Linked DNA regions of Homo sapiens: regions 1, 3, 4 and 5 are each linked to region 2. The links are contacts of gene promoters, found by promoter capture Hi-C in blood cells and fetal thymus (Javierre and others, 2016). All regions are on one chromosome and are shown on one strand. Each heading gives the region's core, a stretch centred on a gene start or on the middle of the fragment in contact. The rest is flanking DNA. Distances are from core to core; before and after follow the strand shown. Region 1 overlaps ARHGAP5 (Rho GTPase activating protein 5). Region 2 holds the start of HEATR5A (HEAT repeat containing 5A). Region 3 overlaps LOC105370440 (a long non-coding RNA gene). Region 4 has its middle 16 kb from the start of RNU6-7. Region 5 overlaps ARHGAP5 (Rho GTPase activating protein 5).

Region 1 (3,753 bases), core at 443-2,942, 670 kb after region 2:
TTATCAGAGTAGGGTGTACATTAAATAATAGGGTAGAAGTTAATGTGTTTGGGAATAGTTTTGGTCATTGGTTTTTCACATATTTTCAGCAGTGAAGTTTTTTTCAAACAAATTGAAATATCAGAAGATAAAAATGGTTAAAAGCAGAATTACCTTTGCTGCGTGGGTTTGCGGAGCTCCCAGAGTACTGCCTACTTGGACCCTCCTTGAAGTACTACACACCTTTAGACTTACTGTTTATATACCCCTATTGTGTGTTAATGATCACATTATAGTCCTGGGGAAAAAAACTGGACTTTTTATGTTAGTATATTTTGCTGTACTAGATGTAATGGGCCCAAAGCAGTACATAATTTTTGTTAATTGTGTTTACAAGTGTGACTTCAGGATTACCCAGCGGTTTGGAAGCTGATTATTCTTAGTCTGGAGATTGAGTCATTTATTCATGAAATATTTACTGAGCCCTCACTGTGTATCAGGCACTGTTGCTGGAGATTTGATTCCAAAACAAAATCCCAATGCTTCTACGTTATTTAGTCACCACGTAAATTGTTCAAATTTTTAATAGGTTGGTTCTCTCTTCATTTGCCTGATTATATTCTTGTTTCAAGACTAATTCATAGGAATAATGACTTTTTAGGGCTCATTTCACATACAAATTGTGTGCTTTCTGGTATAAACTGTGGTTCAAAGATGAAGTATTATTTCGAGTCCAGGACTTTGAGACCACAACATAGTGAGACTCTCTACAAAAAAATTTAAAAATCACCTATGTGTGGTGGTGCACATCTGTAGTCGCAGCTGCTTAGAAGGCTGAGGAAGGAGGATCATTTGAGCCCAGGTGTTTGAGGCTGCAGTAAGCTATGATCCTGCCACTGTACTCTAGAATGGGTGACAGTGACACCCTATTTAAAAAAAAAGACAGATTATGGGATATGAGTTACTCTCCTACAGGTATTACATTGTTGAATTACTTAGCTATTTTATGTGTGTTAGAATGACTTTTTGATTTCTTCTCACTTTTCACAGCATTGATAAATTTACCAGAAATAGCAACATTAAGAAAAGGCAGGCTGGGAGGTGGCTCACGTCTGTAATACCCATACCTTGGGAGGCTGATGGAAGAGGATTGCTTGAGCCCAGGAGTTTGAGACCAGCCTGGGGAGCATAAGGAGAACCCCTCTCTACAAAAATAATTTTTAAATATTAGCTGGGTGTGGTGGTGCATGCCTAGAGTCCCAGCTAGACAGGAGGCTGAGATGAGAGGATCACCTGAGCGCAGGAGTTCGAGGCTGCAGTGAGCTATGATCATGCCACTGCATTCCAGCCTAGATGACAGATTAGGAGACCTATCTCAAAAACAAACAAAAAACAGTAAAGTAATGCATCAGTACTACACTCTGTTCATCTTTTTGTTGTTGTTTTCTATTGCTGCTGAACAAATTATTCATCTTTTAGTGTGCAGTTGTTTTTTTATTCTTCAGCTGCTTGCAAAAAGTTTGCCTAAGATTGTAGAATATATGATAATCTTTGGGCTTTGTTCTTGTTTCTTTTGAATATTTGTTTACATAAGGGATAGTTATTTGATTTAAAGAAGATAGAGCATGTAATTACAAAGTTCCCTCTGTGTGATTAGGTCTTGGAAATATAATTTCTTATCATAAATTTTGTGATTTTACTAAAGTCTTTAAACAGCCAAAAATTTTGAATTAACTATATTTGGGGTTGTACTCAACTTCACTTTTGAAAAAAAATTTTTTTAAGATGTCATAAAATTAGATTGTTATGCTGGCTAAGTACATTATTATAGATTGTAGTTAGCTTTCATTCTCATGGTTTCATTTTTGACTAAATATTTGAGTTTAAATTAGGATTTATGCATTTAATTAGTAGCTGTTATGTGGGAGGCACTGTTGTAGGCTTTTGATATACTGGTGAAATAAAGATTTGTGCCTTGTGACTCTTTTATTAAGAGTGGGATGCGGAGAGGGATAGAGTTAATGACATAAATAAGGTGTATAGTAAGTTAGGAAGGTAAAGAGTTAGCAGTGGGGATCTTTGGGGATATTGTGAAAAGTTAAGTGCAAAGAACATGCCTTAGCATGTTGTCTTCCTCCAGTGTGATTGAAGCAGAATGAGAAAGGTAGAATAGTATTAGGGGAGGCCAGAGAGGTGAGAGAGGGTTGGAGAAGATCTTGTAAGCCATTGACAGGACTTGCTTTTTATTTTTAGCAGTACTCGAGAGTTTTAAACAAAAGAATGGGAAGCTCTGATTTATGTTTTAAAAGGAGCACTCTGGCTGCTCTGATATGAATAGACTGGGAAAAGGGAGCAGAAGTGAAGCAGAGGAGTTAGTTTAGAAGACTTTGGAGTAATCTTGGGCCAGAGATATTGATGGGTGAGAGCAGTAAAAGTAGAAAAAACTGAAAAGTTAAGGATATATTTTAAAGATAGGACCATTAGGAATTTCCTGACATGGTATAATTTAAAAGCATAAAATATTTTTAAATATATACCTTTTATTAATGAATGCATCAATTTTGTGAAAAGGTACATGTTTTAGTTCTGATTTATTGAGATTTTATTTTTTTAGATTCCTTGTAGAACTTTTTTTTTCTTGATTTGCAAAGGAGGATGCAGTGTTTGAATGGTCTAGTAAAATACCTTAGAAAACTTAGTTGTGAACATAGTTTTGTTTTGACACAATTTTAATTTCTATAAGGATATAGATAATTTCTATAAGATTATCCTAAAGACAATCTTAAAGGCAGAATGAGAGACTGCATTGCAAGCTATTAAAAGCAGCACTATTGCTTAAAAAAGTAAAAGATTGGGAATGAAGAGATTTTCCTTCTAACCTTATAATTTCTAGTAGGTTATTGCTACTTTTGTCTTGGTTTCTTCATCAGTAAAAATAAACATGGTGCTAGATATCATAAGAACAAGTTGCATGAAAGTAAGCCTACATCAAAAATAGATGTGCATGATTGACATAGATATTAAGACTGAAAGGAATTTTTAAGTTAACTCAAACAGCCTTCATATCATTGAAGACACTGGGCATTAGTTTATTAGTGGGAGCATGAAAAAAAACAATAAATTTTTTTTGTTCTTAGCACTGAAAAAAAAAATTGCTTGGCTAATAGAGGACAGTTTTGATCTGGTTGTAAGGGGCCAATGGATAATTTGTATATATATATGAACTATCTCAGTGTTTGAAATGAAGTTCCCTTAAAACCTGTTAGAGCCAACTTCATGAGATCTTTTGTCCATTGAGGTGGTAATACCATACTCATCCAAACAAATAGCCAAACCCTTTTGAGGGCAAGGTGACAACAGTTTTTTTTTTTCTATTTTGGGGTTTCTCAAACTATTCCCCCGCCCGCCCTCCCCCGCTTTTTTTTTTTTCAAACCAAAGCCTCTTGAATTAAGTAAACCTATAAATCAGATAAGGAAGGCACTCCTCTGGTGAGAGTTGGAAGGATTCTTCCAACACCCTTCCCACATCTAGGTGGAAGAATTTTTCTGTCACAGTTTGAAAATCACTATATGGTGACTCATGACATAAGCTCTGGAGTTGATTTCAAAATACCAGCAGGTGGTCTGCCTAACAGCCTTGTTAGAAGAATAAGGATGTTCCTCCCTGTATCTAATGGGCATTTTACTGTGAATTGTTGTGGAAACCATAGAAGTCATGTGAAATTACCTTATTTTTAAACTTGAACATTTAAGATTCATATTGCCACTGTCAAA
Region 2 (3,424 bases), core at 186-2,685:
CTAGAATTCAGGTCTCCTGACTTTCAGGTGAGGAGTCTTTTCTTATTCTCCTATTCTATAGTCATCTAGGTAAAACAACTGCATTCCAAGGCACAACAAATCCATACTACAGTATTCTCCAACTGTCACTATTCTTATATTATAAATCCTGCCTGCTTATCAGTGAAGAAAAAAAAAAAGTCAATGGCATTAAAATGTAACACAAATCTCGGCTTCGATACTTTATCTAAAATTACTTTCTCAAAGACATACTTTCTAAAATGTTTGGAAAATTAAACAAAATTCTCCTCTCCCCATCCAACTAATGCTCAATTCTAACCACACTTCTGCTTTCCCTACAGCTTAAGTAATTTCACTGGGAGTATTTTCTCTGGAAGTTCTTAAGTGTACTTGTGGGCCCCTTTTTTTCCTCCTTAAACTTCTAATATCTTTCAGGCTGTAAATTCCTTAAGGGCGCCTAGCCCCAAAAAAGTGCTGCATATTTGTTCAATAAATGAATGCACATAAAAACAATGGATAACTATGACCTTTAATGTAGGAGCTCAAGCCATTTTATTATTATCTGACTTGACAGTCAAGAAAATTATCCCAACTTGCCAGAGGTATCCATTACTGTGATAAATAAACACTATAAAACGCTTTATAAAGTTTCTAAAGACTTTATAATCACTTGAAATAACGCCGCGTTGGCCGAGAGTAGGGTGAAAGAAAATGTTTCCTCACACTAAGCAAATGCCACCAAAGGAAAAGCTTTCTTTCCTGGAGAGAACTGCAACAGTTAGAAAGCAAATATCCACACTCTCCACTGCTCCCTTCTGGGAACTCTCTTTGAGGGTTCCTGCAGAAAACGAACGGGCCTCTGAGGAAGCTCGCCCGAAGGCCGGGCCGGGGCCCGGCTCCTGGCTGACCACTGGCGCAGCGGACGCCGCAGGGCGGGTCCCGGGAGCGGCGAGTTGGCGAGGCGGGCTCCGACTTGCTGACCTTCCCCACACGCCCGGCAACCCCGGCTCCCGCTGGCGGGCAGAGTCCACGCCTACCTGTTGTGCACAGGTGAAGCCAGACTTTCCCGTAGTCCAGGAGGAAGAACGGACCACGCTGTTTATCAGCCGACCCTGTGCCCCAGTCAGCCCCTTCTCGGCGGACTCCAGCCCTTAGGGTCAAGACACCTAGCCCCTCGACCGGTTCTCCCACCGGCTTCTTTCGCGATCACATTGCTGCCGCGACCACCCTCGGGATCCCCGAGCGCTCAACTCATACAGCGGCCCTGGTGCGTTCTCCTTCCCAGCCAACAGGCAGCCCAGACACAGCCCCCTCGCGCCCGGAGGTGTCCCCGCTCCCTGGATCCCCGACTGCCTGCCTTTGGGGGTCCTCCTCAGCTGAGCGTGCGTCCCGGTCCAGCAACGTTACCGGCTGCTCTGCTAACCCTAGCAGAGTCTGGAATTGCCGGCGGCGGCGACAGCGAGGCATTGAGGTGGGCGGGGCGCGCGTGGGGCGTGGCCGGAAAGCTCTCAGCGGCGAGCACCGCGGGAGCTAGCGATTGGGAGCGCGCCCTGCGCCGGGCCGCTGGTCCAAGGCCCCGCCAGCTGGCCGCCGAGCCATCGAGCGCCCACTCTGGCAGGCGTGACTGCTTCACCGTCGAAAGAGCGATGGAGACTGCGGCCCAAGTTAGGATTAGGACAGCGGTTTTTCAGTCCGGAGATTCCGGCCACAACTATTTTTGTCTGTTTTTATCGTAAGCCAGAGTCTTTGGGTGCAGCTCTGGGACACCTAAAGGGCCTGGAGAAATTCAGGCGGGGCCAGTGCTGTGGGGGTAGATGTTAGACGTGGAAGGGACCCTAGAGAGCCTTGACTGTGAGGACTGAGGTAAAGTGACTTGCTCAAGGTCACATACTAAGTCAATGGCAGAACTGAGACTAATAGCCTCTTACCTTGAGTCATGTGCGTTTTCCCACTACACTCAGCGTTTTAAATGTCATTTTTCAAGTTTCATTTTGAATCTATCTCCAGCTTACAAAAAGGTTGCAAGTATAGTACAAAGAACTTTTTTTCCCTGAATTGAGATTTAAATTGCTGACACCATGCCACATTGTCCCTAAGCACCTTCTACATAATCACAATATAACCATCAAAATCAAAACATTTACATAACTCGGCGTTTTACCAATTGTCCCAATAATATTGTTTATGGTAAAAGATTCCGTTCAGAATCAGGCATTGTATTTACTTATCATGTATCTTTCCTACTCTTCAAACTGGAACTCTCAGTCTTGCCTTGCCTTTCATATTCTTGACGCTGTTAAAGATTCCTGGCCAGTTATTTTTGTAGAATGGCCTTCATTTTGGGTCTGTCTGATATTTACTCATGATTACATTTAGCTAGGTATGACAGGACTCTAGAAGTGTTGCTGCTTTCTTCTCATGGCACCCTATCAGGTGGCACGATTTTAACTTCTCTCATTACAGATGTTTACTTTAATAAGGTGATGTCTGTTAGGCTTGTCCAGTGTGGTTACTTTTTTCCCCCCTTTGTAAATTAATAAGTATTTTGTGAGGGAGACTCTGAAACTCTCCTTTCAAGATATTTGTAAATATCTTGTTTCTCATCAAATCTTCAGTTAATGTATTTATATTAATTAGTATGGATCCAGAGGTTTCTATTTTGTTAAATGACTTATAATCCGTTTCTTTCTCTCTTTTCTCTCTCTCTTTTTTTTTTTTTTTTTCTTGAGACAGGGCCTCCTTTGTTGCCCAGGCCGGAGTGCAGTGGCTATTCACAGGTCGATAATGCAATCATGGTGCACACTACAGCCTTGAACTTCTGGGCTCATGTGATCCTTCTGCCTCAGCCTCCCAGGTAAGTAGCTGAGACTGCAGGCATGCACACCACCACACCAGCCAATATTCTGTCTCTATCATTATTTATTTTGATGCTCAATTATCCCAAGTTTGGTGGGTAGGGGCCCCATTCATTCTATCTTCTGTGATATGTGTGTGTGTGTGTGTGTGTGTGTGTGTGTGTGTGTTCAATTTTTTTTTAAGACAAGAAGACAAGGTCTCATATTCATTCTAGCTTCTGTGTTGTGTGTGTGTGTGTGTGTGTGTAATTTTTTTTTTTTTGAGACAAGAAGACAAGGTCTCACTCTGTCACCCAGGCTGGAGTGCAGTAGTCTGATCACAGCTCACTGCAGGCTCAACCTCCTAGGCTCAGGTGATTCTCCCACCTCAGCCACTCAAGTAGCAGGGACAATGGGTGTGCCACTGTGCCTGGCTAATTTTGTTTGTTTGTTTTTGTTTTTGTAGAGACAGGGTTTCACCATTTTGCCCAGGCTGGTCTCGAACTCCTGGGCCCAAGCGATCCACCCGCCTCAGCCTCCCAAAGTGCTGGGATTACAGGTGTGACCCACTGTACCCAGCCTTAAATTCT
Region 3 (3,556 bases), core at 251-2,750, 630 kb after region 2:
TTCCTTCTCATTTATAACTTGTGACTTCATTTGTGTGACTCATTTCATTAAGTTTGTCTCCATGAACACTAACCACCCAATATGCCATACTGTGAGCATTTTTCTCTAAGATATAAATCAGCAATTCTTAACCTGTGCTTTTAACATCCAGTGGTATATTAATATAAATCAAGGGGTATCTTTAGTTTTTTAAAAACAAGCTCAAAATAGCTTTAAACTTCAAGATACTATTGAAAATTAGAACGAATTATTATGCAAAAACTTGATTTTTTTTGCCTTTTTAAATTTTTTTTATTTCATGCAGGATTTTGTTTTTTGTTTCTTAAGATGAACAAAAACTTGATTTTTAAGATTGGAAATACCATATACTTGAAACATTCTTAGTTACAGGTGCAACTACCCGATTGAGGAAATCCATTGCTAAGCAAACAACGGAATTGCCTTAATGATATAATTTAAGTTATATCTGCTTCCATCTTTGGATTCCCATTTCCTTCTCCCAAATGCATGATATTTGGAAGCACTTTGTTGATATTACAAATTTATAAATAAAGTAGACTTTGCTTCTTACATGTCACCATTGAGATGTTTAGGCTCTATAGATTGTTATTTAAAAATTTGGCTTACTTCAGCCAAATAAAATCATAGGTGTATGAAATGCTTAATTTTACATGTGAGGAAAAAAAGCCCACCAAATTCAAATAAATTATTTGAGTTTTCCCAACTTGTTAGCAACAGAGTTTTACCTAGAACCCTAGGCTTCTTTACGCCAGTGTTGTATTTTTTTCAGCTACACTAGACTATCAAATTGACAAAGCTTCATATACATTAGAATGAAGTGGTTGAGGCAAAGGAATGGTAAATTGAGAATTCACAATTTGGGGTAAGGTCAAAGTATGATCTGAGGATCGCCTTTGTTAATCACATGGATGCTTTCTGAAAATGTAGATTCCTAGACTCTTCCTAGGTTCCCAGACAGATTGAATCTCAATCTCCATGGGTGGGACCCAGGAATATGCCATTTAAACAAGTTCTCTAGATAACTTTTATGTACACTAAGGTTTACATTCCATAGGCCAATGATATCCTATATATTCCTCTAGAATGTTATTTAATATGTTTTAAACTGAGGTGTTAACATTTTCCCATTTGGGGAATTTGTACTGTTTTGCACTAGATTCTAAGGACTGGTACAGAGGAGACCTATGGTGAAAGTGAAGGGCATTGAATCTGGGTTCCATTCCAGGCTAACCTTGCTATGTGGGCCTGGGCAACTTACTTACTGAACACTCTAAGTCTTCAATTTTTCTTCTTCGAAATAACTATAATGCCACCCTTGCAGAACTGCTGAGAGATCATAGAAATAAAATACTGTGCAGGCACTGGGCCTGGCCTATTAAAAGCATGCAACTACTAATTACTGTCATTACCTAAGCTAACATAACTATTATTTTCCTCTTCCCTTACCTTGTAAAGTGGAAATACACTGAATTCCTCATTGTTTCAGACCTAGCAACTATTTGTGGATTATTCCTATCTTTCGCTCCTCCTCCTCACCTCTGTGGCTTCCTGCCTACCTCTTGGCCATTTCATTGTTCATTAGTCACCTCCACCAGAAGGAGGAAAGAGAAAATAAGAAATGCAACTCAAAACATCCATTTTCTTCATATGTTATTACTCTTAGTAAAAGATTTGATTTGAAGTGATGTGGCTGAATCACTGGCCAAAATAACATTTTTGTGTTTTCTAAGAGTTTAATTTACCTATTTTTTAGACAGTTTCCATTCCGGCTCTTATAATGAAATATCCTTGCTTAAAAACAGTGATTTTAATCAACACTGCATAAGAAAAGGATATACTAAATGAATCATTTTGAATCTTGTTTCCTTCCTCAATTTTTAGGGGAACTGAGAAGATTTGGTTGAATAAAGCTCATTAAGATCCTACAGAGATGGAATCTGAGTATGAAGTAGGTCAAATTCAGTCTCCCTGATAGTGCCCTTCAGGCATTGCCAACGTGGGCTTCTCGCTCAGCAGAGGTGGGTTGTGTGTGGATGGATTCCTAGACTGCAGCATGGGCTCTAACCTAATGAGAAGGTGCCTACACAGGGCCTGCAGCCAGAAGTCCTGATTTTCACGTAAAATGCCCTCAGTTCCTTCAAATCTTCAGATTTTTCCTCAGGTAAAGCTTTGTATCCTAGGTGCTTGGTATTAGGCATCTGCTTGTTGGAAAGTAAGAGAGCCACATCCGCAACTGCAAGAGTTGGGAGACTCCAGCGGCAGTAACAACCCAGGGGATCACACAAAGGTGAGCGTGACAAGAGGAGAATTTTTTTTCCCCTCTGGCACCCTGGTGTGGCAGGAGGGTACGGGTAGGGACTGGGGGCTGTCTAGAGGCCTGGTCTTTTCTCCTCCCCACTCTTCACCTGTTGCCAATCCTAGGTCCTGGAAGAATGCCTGACACGCATCCTCAGGTTGACTGACAATCTGATGTGTGGCATGACCAATGCAATAGAATAGCAGCTTCCTGAGGGCAGGTGTTTTTGGCTGCTTTATTCACTGCATTTGGAACTGGGTCTGTCCTGGAGTAGGTACCCAGTAAATATTTACTGAATAAATAGATGAAGTAAACATCAGGGTTAAAAGATACTCATTGAAAGAAAGGAAGAAGAGGGGACAAACTGAAAGAGGGAAATCAAATCATGGAATGATTATTGGCTTGATTGAGCCAATCTGATTATCTGAAGAAAATGCCCTTTTCAGATAAAAGAAGATACTTCTTTGGGCAAAGGCATATGAGATTCCTGCTATGGCTACACCCTCCAAACAAGGTGTTAGGGTCTACCCCGGTAGTATTAATGCTAGTCTATTTGAAAAGTAATGATAATGATAATGATGGTGAGTAATAAAAATAGCAACAGGAGCAACTAACAGTTACATGGCACTTACACCATGTGGATTATCTTCCCCAATCCATTTGTGAAACTTAATGAATGATAATAGAAGTGTAATGGCACTTTGCCACAGCAATGTGAAACTTGATATACTGTGGTATCAAGGGCATTCAGTCACAGGAATATGTTCTTGCAAACAGGTCTTAAGGGCAGTGGGCTAGTATGGTTTCCCTAAACAGACACTGTGTGTATGTGCACATGCAAATGCTTTTGTGTGTGTGTATATACATATGCAGATAAATGCACACAGCCTATTCAAAATCATTTTGGTAATAACTTTGATTCTGGGAGTTGGGTGCTAGGTAAAGCTAAGTGTAATTTTTGCTCCAATGCCACATCCTTTTATTCAAATCATAGTTTTCTTGGAAGTTTCCAAAACCGCTAATGCAAATGACATATTCATCTGTAGAAATTTCCCTTTTAGGAGGATGGCAATATGCCAACAAAGGTGAAATATAAAGCATATTTTTAAAAAGAGCTTTAACTAGTCCTGCATTTTATAGATCTGCTTTGTGACCCTTATTTTATCATGTCCATTTGCTGCTTTAGTACTTTGGCTCTTGAAGGCAATTTATTTAAATTCAGTGAAGGCAAACTGGAAT
Region 4 (3,798 bases), core at 724-3,223, 770 kb after region 2:
ACAGACAGCTTGGCTTCTCAGTAGAGCATTTAGATACATATTTAATATTCTGACAATTAAAAATTATTTTGCTGCTGTCCCTGACTTCTGTATATGGACAAATTATACCCATAGATCATATACCCACCAGTCCAGGACCCAGAAAAAAATTTGCAACACTTAGAGAAACTTTTTCAAAATAGTTATGTTCCAAAGCAACAGTAATAGATTGTTTAGTGTTTGTGGATGTTTGTCTCATGTTAGGACATTATAAAGGAGAGGATCAGTTGGTGAAGAAGGGTGAATCAGTAGTAATTGTTTGATGACATGTTTGCCGAAAACTTCCCAGAGAGAGTTCTAATATATCATTTAAAGTTTCAATTCAGTAAACATTTATTAAACACCTGCTGTGTGCAAAGACCCTCAGAAAACCAAAAGACAAGTAGCAGTCAGCCTCTAATCTCATACTTCCAATTAGAAGAACAAGATTAATAGAGAAATGACTAGATATGTACGTAAGGTAAGTAGAAAAGTACAAAATGTTTATGTGGATGACACTGTTTATGACAGAATAATAGCTTTAATTTTTCACAATGAACATTTTAATCAAAGTTTAACACATATGTAGAAAAGTGCACAAATTAGAAGTATATAGCTTGATGAATTATTGAAGAATAAACACACCAGTATAACTACCACACAGTTAAATAGATTGAATATCACAATTCCAGAAGCCCACCATATGCCTAGTCATTTTCTACACTCCTTATTAAAAGATAATGGCTATTCTGTTTTCCAACACAGTAGACTAGTTTTGCCTAGTTTTGCACAGTAGACTAGTTTTGGAACTTCATAAAAATGAGGCAGAGTAGACTCTTTTGTGTTTGGCTTCTTTCACTCAACGTTATGTTTGTGTGATTCATCTATGTTGTTGTGGCTCTGAATACATATTTCTTAATTAATTTATTCTCTTGTTGAAGACAAGATATTTGGGTTTTTAGGAACAATGCTTCTATGCATAATCATGTGTAGATACACACGTGGGTTGCTGGATCACAGAGTATGTGTACGTTCAGCTTTAACAGATACTGACAAATAGTTTTCAAAATGGTTGCATCAATTTATACTCTCACTGGAATTGTATGAAAATTAGAATACTCCACATCTCTGCCAACCCTGGGTGCCAGCCTTTTAAGATAGTTTTAATATGCATTTCACTGATGACCAATAACAATGAGACTTTTTCATATGTGTATTGGCCATTTGGATATCTTCTTCTGTAAAGTGCCTGTTCAGGTGTTTTGCCCATTTTTCAGTTGTCTTTTTCTTATTGATTTGCTGGAATTCTTTATATATGAGCCCTTTGTTGGTTATATGTATTGCAAATATCTTCTACTCATGAGTTTACCTTTTCATTTTCTTAATGGTGATGTTTTTGGGATGAACATAAATCCCCAATTTTAGCGTAGCTAATCTTTTCCTTATCAATAGTTAATACTTTTTGCTTCCAGTCTAAGAAAACCTTCTCTACTTCAAAGTCAGTAACATACTTTCTTATGTTATTATTCTCTAGAAGCTTTATTATCTTACCTTTTATATTTAGATACACATTCTATCTGGAAATAATTTTCAGGTATGGCATGAGGTAGAAATTAAGATTTCTGCAAACAGATACAGTTGAGTCAATATTGTTTATTGTTTGTTTGTTTGTTTGTTTGTTTGTTTGGAGATGGAGTCTTGCTCTGTCATGCAGGCTGCAGTGCAGTGGCCCAATCTTGGCTCACTGCAACCTCTGCCTCCCGGGTTCAAGTGATTCTCCTGCCTCAGCCTCCTGAGTAGCTAGGATTACAGTGGTTTTTGTATTTTTAGTAGAAACGGGGTTTCACCATGTTGGCCGGGCTGGTCTTGAACTCCTGACCTCAGGCGATCCGTCCAACTTGGCCTCCCATAGTGCTGGGATTACAGGCATGAGCCACCACGTCTGGCTGCCAATATTGTTTACTGAAGCGATTGCCCTTTCCCCATTGCCCTTCAGTGCTACCTTGTCATAAATCAGGTGCCCTTTTGGTTCTATTAATCTATTTGTCCATCTTTTGTGCCAATACCAGATAGTCTTAATAAATAATGTATAGCTTTTTGACAGGCAAAGGAAAGAGGGAGAGGTAGCCCAGGGAGGTGTAACTACAGCAAGAGAAAGAGTAGATTTCCCCTGCCATACAGTCTCCATCCCACCTCCTTGGCCTCCTCAGGAACCTGCCTCCATCAATGATCTCCCCTCATCCCTGAATCTTCACTCTGTGCTCTACTCTTTGCCATCAACATATAAACATGTCCAAGTTTCTGTAATGAAAAAAACAAAAAAAGGCTCTTTTACTTTATATCTGCTTCTGCAGCTTTCATTTCCTTTATGGCCAAGCTTATTGAAAGAATGATTTCATTTTCACTTCCTGTCTCCCATTAACTTAACATCTCACCTCTATGATTTGCACCTGCAGCTTGTACTTCCACCCACTCCCCCAGTCAAGGTCATCAATATATATTTTTTTAGTTATTATCTTGTTTTCTCACTCTTCCAATATGGTCTCCTTTGCTGGCTAGAATTACTCCATGCTCTGGTGGCACAGGTAGGAGTTGAAGTTAGTAACTGTCCTCTATTCATCTTGACCTAGGTAGTTAGATAAGTGCTTGTTATCACTTCACAAATGTTTTAGAAGAAAACATAGAGGATTATCTTTATGGCATTAGAATGCAACAATACAATTTTTCTTTTAATTTTATAGAGGTGAGGTTTCACCATGTTGGCCAGGCTGGTCTAAAACTCCTGACCTCAGGTGATCCTCCTGCCTCTGCATCCCAAAGTGCTGGGATTACAGGCATGAATCACCGTGCCTGGCCTTTTTTTTTTTTTTTTTTTTTTTTTTTTTTTTGAGGGAGTCTCGTTCTGTTGCCCAGGCTGGAGTGCAGCAGTGCGATCTCTGTTCACTGCAAGCTCCGCAGGTTCAACCTCCTGAGTAGCTGACTACAGGCATGTGCACCAGGCCTGGCTAATTTTTTGTATCATTACTAGAGACAGGGTTTCACCGTGATGGCCAGGCTGGTTTCCTGACCTCAAGCAATCAACCTTCCTTGACCTCCTATAGTGCTGGATTACAGGTGTGAGCCAAAGTGCCCAGCCAGGAATAATGTTTAGATAAGAAAAAATATTGGCTGGATGCGGTGGCTCACCCCTATAATCCCAGCACTTTTGGAGGCCAAGGCGAGTGTATTACTTGAGCTCAGGAGTTCGAGACCAGCCTGGCCTATATGGTGAAACCTCGTCTCTACTAAAAATACAAAAATTGGCTGGGTGTGGTGGAGCATGCCCGTAATCTCAGCCACTTGGAAGGCTGAAGTGGGAGAATCACTTGAATCCGAGAAGTGGAGGTTGCAGTGAGCCGAGATCACACCACTGCCCTCCAGCCTGGGTGATAGAGTGAGACTCCATCTCAAAAAAGAAAAAGAAAAAAAAAAGAAGAAGAAAAAGAAAAAAATACTATACAATCCATAAAGAAAACTAACAAATTTGACTATATTCAAATATATATTTGTACACAAGATACCACAAACAAGGTTAAAAGATGAGACTCAAAAACACAGGGAGAAGATGTTAGTAACCAACATAACCTAGAAAGAATTAGTATTACAGAATACATAAATAATTCTTGAAAATCAATAAGAAAATGATAACCAAAAAGGAAAATTACAAAAGTTTATGAAAAGGCAACTGACAGTAAATCTGTGGAAAAAATGGTTGTTCTCCTGAGTAATCATGGAAATGCA
Region 5 (3,381 bases), core at 499-2,998, 680 kb after region 2:
TTGGCTCTGCTTTCAAGAAATTCAGTCTAATAAAATTGATTTTGCTGAAAATTAAATATGTTTTATATTTTCAACAAGTTTAGCCAGACTTCTGGTTCTTTCTCATATTTCATCTCATCTGGAAAGAATTTACTTAGGCTTTCTTCAGTACCATTTCTATTGCTTTCTTCCTGGGTAACTGGCTAAATTGATCTACCTGGTTAACTAGATCTGTGATGTTTCTATAATTTCTCATAAAGTTAAAATTTGTTTCTTCAGCATTTTTGGTGCTGGCTACACCAATTTATGATAACATAAGTGTGGATATGTAGTGCAAGTATTTCTGGCAGTATTTTACTATTTGCCATTTCTTTGAATTCTGTGTTGTCCATTTGATCATGATTTATTGCTTTTCAAATTCAGATTGAAATGTAATTAGATGGTTAATTTTTAAAGTATATTTCTGATTTATATATTTTGTTAAGACTTAATTGGAAAGATTATGTCAGTGGCATACATTTTCGCTAATTTAAATTTGGCTTTCTATACAAACTTTTTCTTAGTGTTTATAGCAGCGTACTGAATATTTTGTAAAAGCATAGTACAGATTATTGAAGTTACTCATTTCTGCAGCAGATTAATAGTAAATGTTAAGTATGTGTCAAGGAGGCACTTCTGTAACATAGATAATTGTGTTCTTATGTTAATGGACAGTTGTTACTATTGCAAGACTATAGGTAAATTTATAGGTTTGCCAATTTATGTACACCAAAATTTTGTATACTACAAATTGTGTCAATCCTAGGAGAGGTTTTTTACAGTAGATGCAGTGTTATGATTTCTTGCTCTGTAATGTTTTCCTGTCATCTCAGCTAAAGTGTGGATGGAGTACTCAAGTAAATAGGGCTTAATCTGTGACTTTTAAAGAAGAGAAACCCCAGAGCATAGGAGGGTTGCTTTTTAAAAATAGTAGTAATTTTTGATGTTTAGAATCCTTACAACAAAATATAAGGATATGACAAAAGAGATCTTATGATTGTATCGTAGTCAAAATAAAGGGTACAACTTGCATACATTGTATAACAATTGTTTTGAACTTTTTGGAAATTGTTCTTAGCCTTTGAAAATCTGAGTCAAGGTTTGGGTATTTTCCCTAGAAAAATGCACATGCACAAAATTTTACTGGAGTTTTAACGGTTTCAAATACTTTCTAAAGGCCTGTGGATCCCAGTTTAAGAAACTCCTTGTATAAGATGAGAGGGAGGAGGAAGACACTGAAATTTGGGGAAGCTGGGTAGAAATCCACCCATTCACTTGAATAGTTAGTTGCTTTGCTAGAACTTTCTCCAAGTGACTCCAGGTTTATTTTTTGTTAAGTTGTTAATGGCATTAATAAAATATCTGCCACATATATAATATATGTTGAAATGCTTTTTAGGAAGATGTTATCTTAGAGAATAAAGGTTCCTGAGTCAAGGTTAAAATTAGTTTGCCTGATAAGTATGTACAAAAACCTAGACCACATTTATTTACTCTGTTGTTTTTTATTTCCTCTTTTCACCTAGTGTTAGCATAAAGGGTGTGAGAGAGTCTTCACAATGTAAGTTTTCTGAAGTGTGTTTGGACTTTCAGCCAGCACTTACGGCTTTTATAGGCTTAAAAAAGGGATTAAATAAACCTTTAGAGTGCTGGGTCCCCTGAAGGCTTCTTTCTTACACCAGTGTGTTAAACTATAATGTAATGCTGCTTCTCACTGCCTGATCACTTTATATTGTAGTTTAATTTTGTTTTTCTATGTTATAACCTTTCTGAGGGCAGTTATGGTTATCATTCAACTTTGTATAACCTGCAGTATTGTTTCTCAGTCTTGAGTCGTGTATGGACCTTTTTTAAAGTTAAAATTCTCAGGCTTTTCAGAAATATATCTGTAGCTATTTCCCAAACTTGAGTTATTGGTCTTTGTTTTTACTAGTCTAGCACAGTGGCTATCAACCAGGGTCAGTTTGGCCCTCCAGGAAGCATATGGCAATGTCTAGAGACATTTTTGGGTGTCACAACTGGAAGTAGGAGGTTGCTGCTGGCATCTAGTGGGTAGAAGCCAGGGTTACTGCTAAACATTGAATTGCTAAACTGAATTGCAGAATTCACAGGCCATCTTCCACAACAAAGGATTATACAGCCCAAAGTGCCAATAATCTTGAAGTTGAGAAACCCTGGTGTAGGAGACTATGTCTTGAAAAAAATGTCTATGCAGTTCTAGAAGTCAGTCATACAAGGCATGTTTGTATCTGTTCAATAAGAAAGGTAGGGTTTTCCATATAGGTCATAGCGTTTTCTTCCCCAGCCTCACCGTGATTGGGTAAGAATATATTTTCAGGATTATGTTAACTGTGGGCCAGAGCTACATGCTATTGTCATTTATCATACTCGACTGTTTATCATTCATTATTCTGCTATAAAATGTGTTGCTTCCGTTCCATTTTCATACTAGTTGAGGTTGTCATTATTTCTTACCTGCATTATCACAAATACCTTTTTTAAAGAAATAAAGATTCTATTTTGAGCTAATTGTTGATTCATATGCTATTGTTTTTTTTTTTAAAAAAAAGAGAGACCCCATGTGCTCTTTGCCCATTTTCCCACAATGGTAATATCCTGCAAAACTATAGTACAATATCACAGCCAGGGTGTTGACATTAATATGATCTACAGATCTTATTCAGATTTCCCCAGTTTTACTTGTACTAATTTGTACATGTGTATATTTTGTTCTTTGCAGTTTTTCATGTGTATAGGTTTGTGTGTCCCTCCCATAGTCAAGATGTAAAACAGTTCCATCCACTAGCAAATTAACTTGTTTTGTCTTTTTATAACTACATGCTTTTCCTTCTCCTCACCCATCCCTAACCACTGATAGCCACTACTCTGTTTTTCATTTCTATAATTTTGTCATTTCAAGGATGTTATATAAATGGAATCACAGGGCATATAACTTTCTGGGATTGACTTTCATTTACCATAATGCCCTTGAGATTCAGCCAAGTTGTTGCGTGCATCAACAGTTTGTTCTTTTTATTGCTGAATAATATTCCATAATATGGATACATCAGTGTTTTAACCTGTTGAAGGACATCAGGTCGTTCCAGTTTTTGTCCATCTTGAATAAAGTTGTCATGAACATTCGAATACAGGATAAGAAACTGCCAAACTGTTTTCCAGAATGGGTATACTATTTTATTTATTTATTTATTGAGATGGAGTCTCACTTTGTTGCCCAGGCTACAGTGCAGTGGCGCGATCTCAGCTCACTGCAACCTCTGCCTCCCAGGTTCAAGTAATTCTCTGCCTCAGCCTCCTGAGTATCTGGGATTACAGATGCCCACCACCACACCTGGCTAATTT

What was found. Contacts are between HindIII fragments. The CHiCAGO score rates a contact against its expected background, and 5 or more counts as called.
Region 1: a contact is called between a fragment that was not itself captured here and the fragment with the promoter of HEATR5A in region 2, in 1 of 17 cell types (total B cells). The highest score is 5.7, in total B cells.
Region 3: a contact is called between a fragment that was not itself captured here and the fragment with the promoter of HEATR5A in region 2, in 1 of 17 cell types (total B cells). The highest score is 5.4, in total B cells.
Region 4: a fragment that was not itself captured here is called in contact with the fragment with the promoter of HEATR5A in region 2 in 2 of 17 cell types (naive B cells and total B cells); the score reaches 6.2 in naive B cells.
Region 5: a contact is called between a fragment that was not itself captured here and the fragment with the promoter of HEATR5A in region 2, in 1 of 17 cell types (activated CD4 T cells). The highest score is 5.6, in activated CD4 T cells.

What each region holds. Positions count from the first base shown.
Region 1 is chr14:32,084,095-32,087,847 of GRCh38, forward strand. The region is part of intron 1 of ARHGAP5 (Rho GTPase activating protein 5); the gene reads left to right. Among named protein-coding and RNA genes, the nearest start is that of ARHGAP5, 8.7 kb to the left of the region's middle. The HindIII fragment of the contact is 4,255 bases long and covers 1-3,753 here.
Region 2 is chr14:31,419,115-31,422,538 of GRCh38, forward strand. It overlaps HEATR5A (HEAT repeat containing 5A), which reads right to left and starts at 1,436. Exons shown (of 36, transcript NM_015473.4): 1 at 1,358-1,436. It overlaps HEATR5A-DT (HEATR5A divergent transcript), which reads left to right and starts at 1,644. Exons shown (of 4, transcript NR_110045.1): 1 at 1,644-1,863; 2 at 2,730-2,854. RefSeq lists a silencer at 897-1,016 and enhancers at 1,127-1,176, 1,607-1,756. The HindIII fragment of the contact is 6,619 bases long and covers 749-3,424 here.
Region 3 is chr14:32,047,975-32,051,530 of GRCh38, forward strand. LOC105370440 (a long non-coding RNA gene) reads left to right here. Exons shown (of 4, transcript XR_943727.2): 3 at 1,903-2,308. Among named protein-coding and RNA genes, the nearest start is that of ARHGAP5-AS1, 27 kb to the right of the region's middle. The HindIII fragment of the contact is 1,371 bases long and covers 816-2,186 here.
Region 4 is chr14:32,184,042-32,187,839 of GRCh38, forward strand. No RefSeq gene overlaps it. Among named protein-coding and RNA genes, the nearest start is that of RNU6-7, 16 kb to the right of the region's middle. The HindIII fragment of the contact is 840 bases long and covers 1,554-2,393 here.
Region 5 is chr14:32,102,910-32,106,290 of GRCh38, forward strand. All of the region lies in intron 2 of ARHGAP5 (Rho GTPase activating protein 5), which reads left to right. Among named protein-coding and RNA genes, the nearest start is that of ARHGAP5, 27 kb to the left of the region's middle. The HindIII fragment of the contact is 5,331 bases long and covers 1-3,381 here.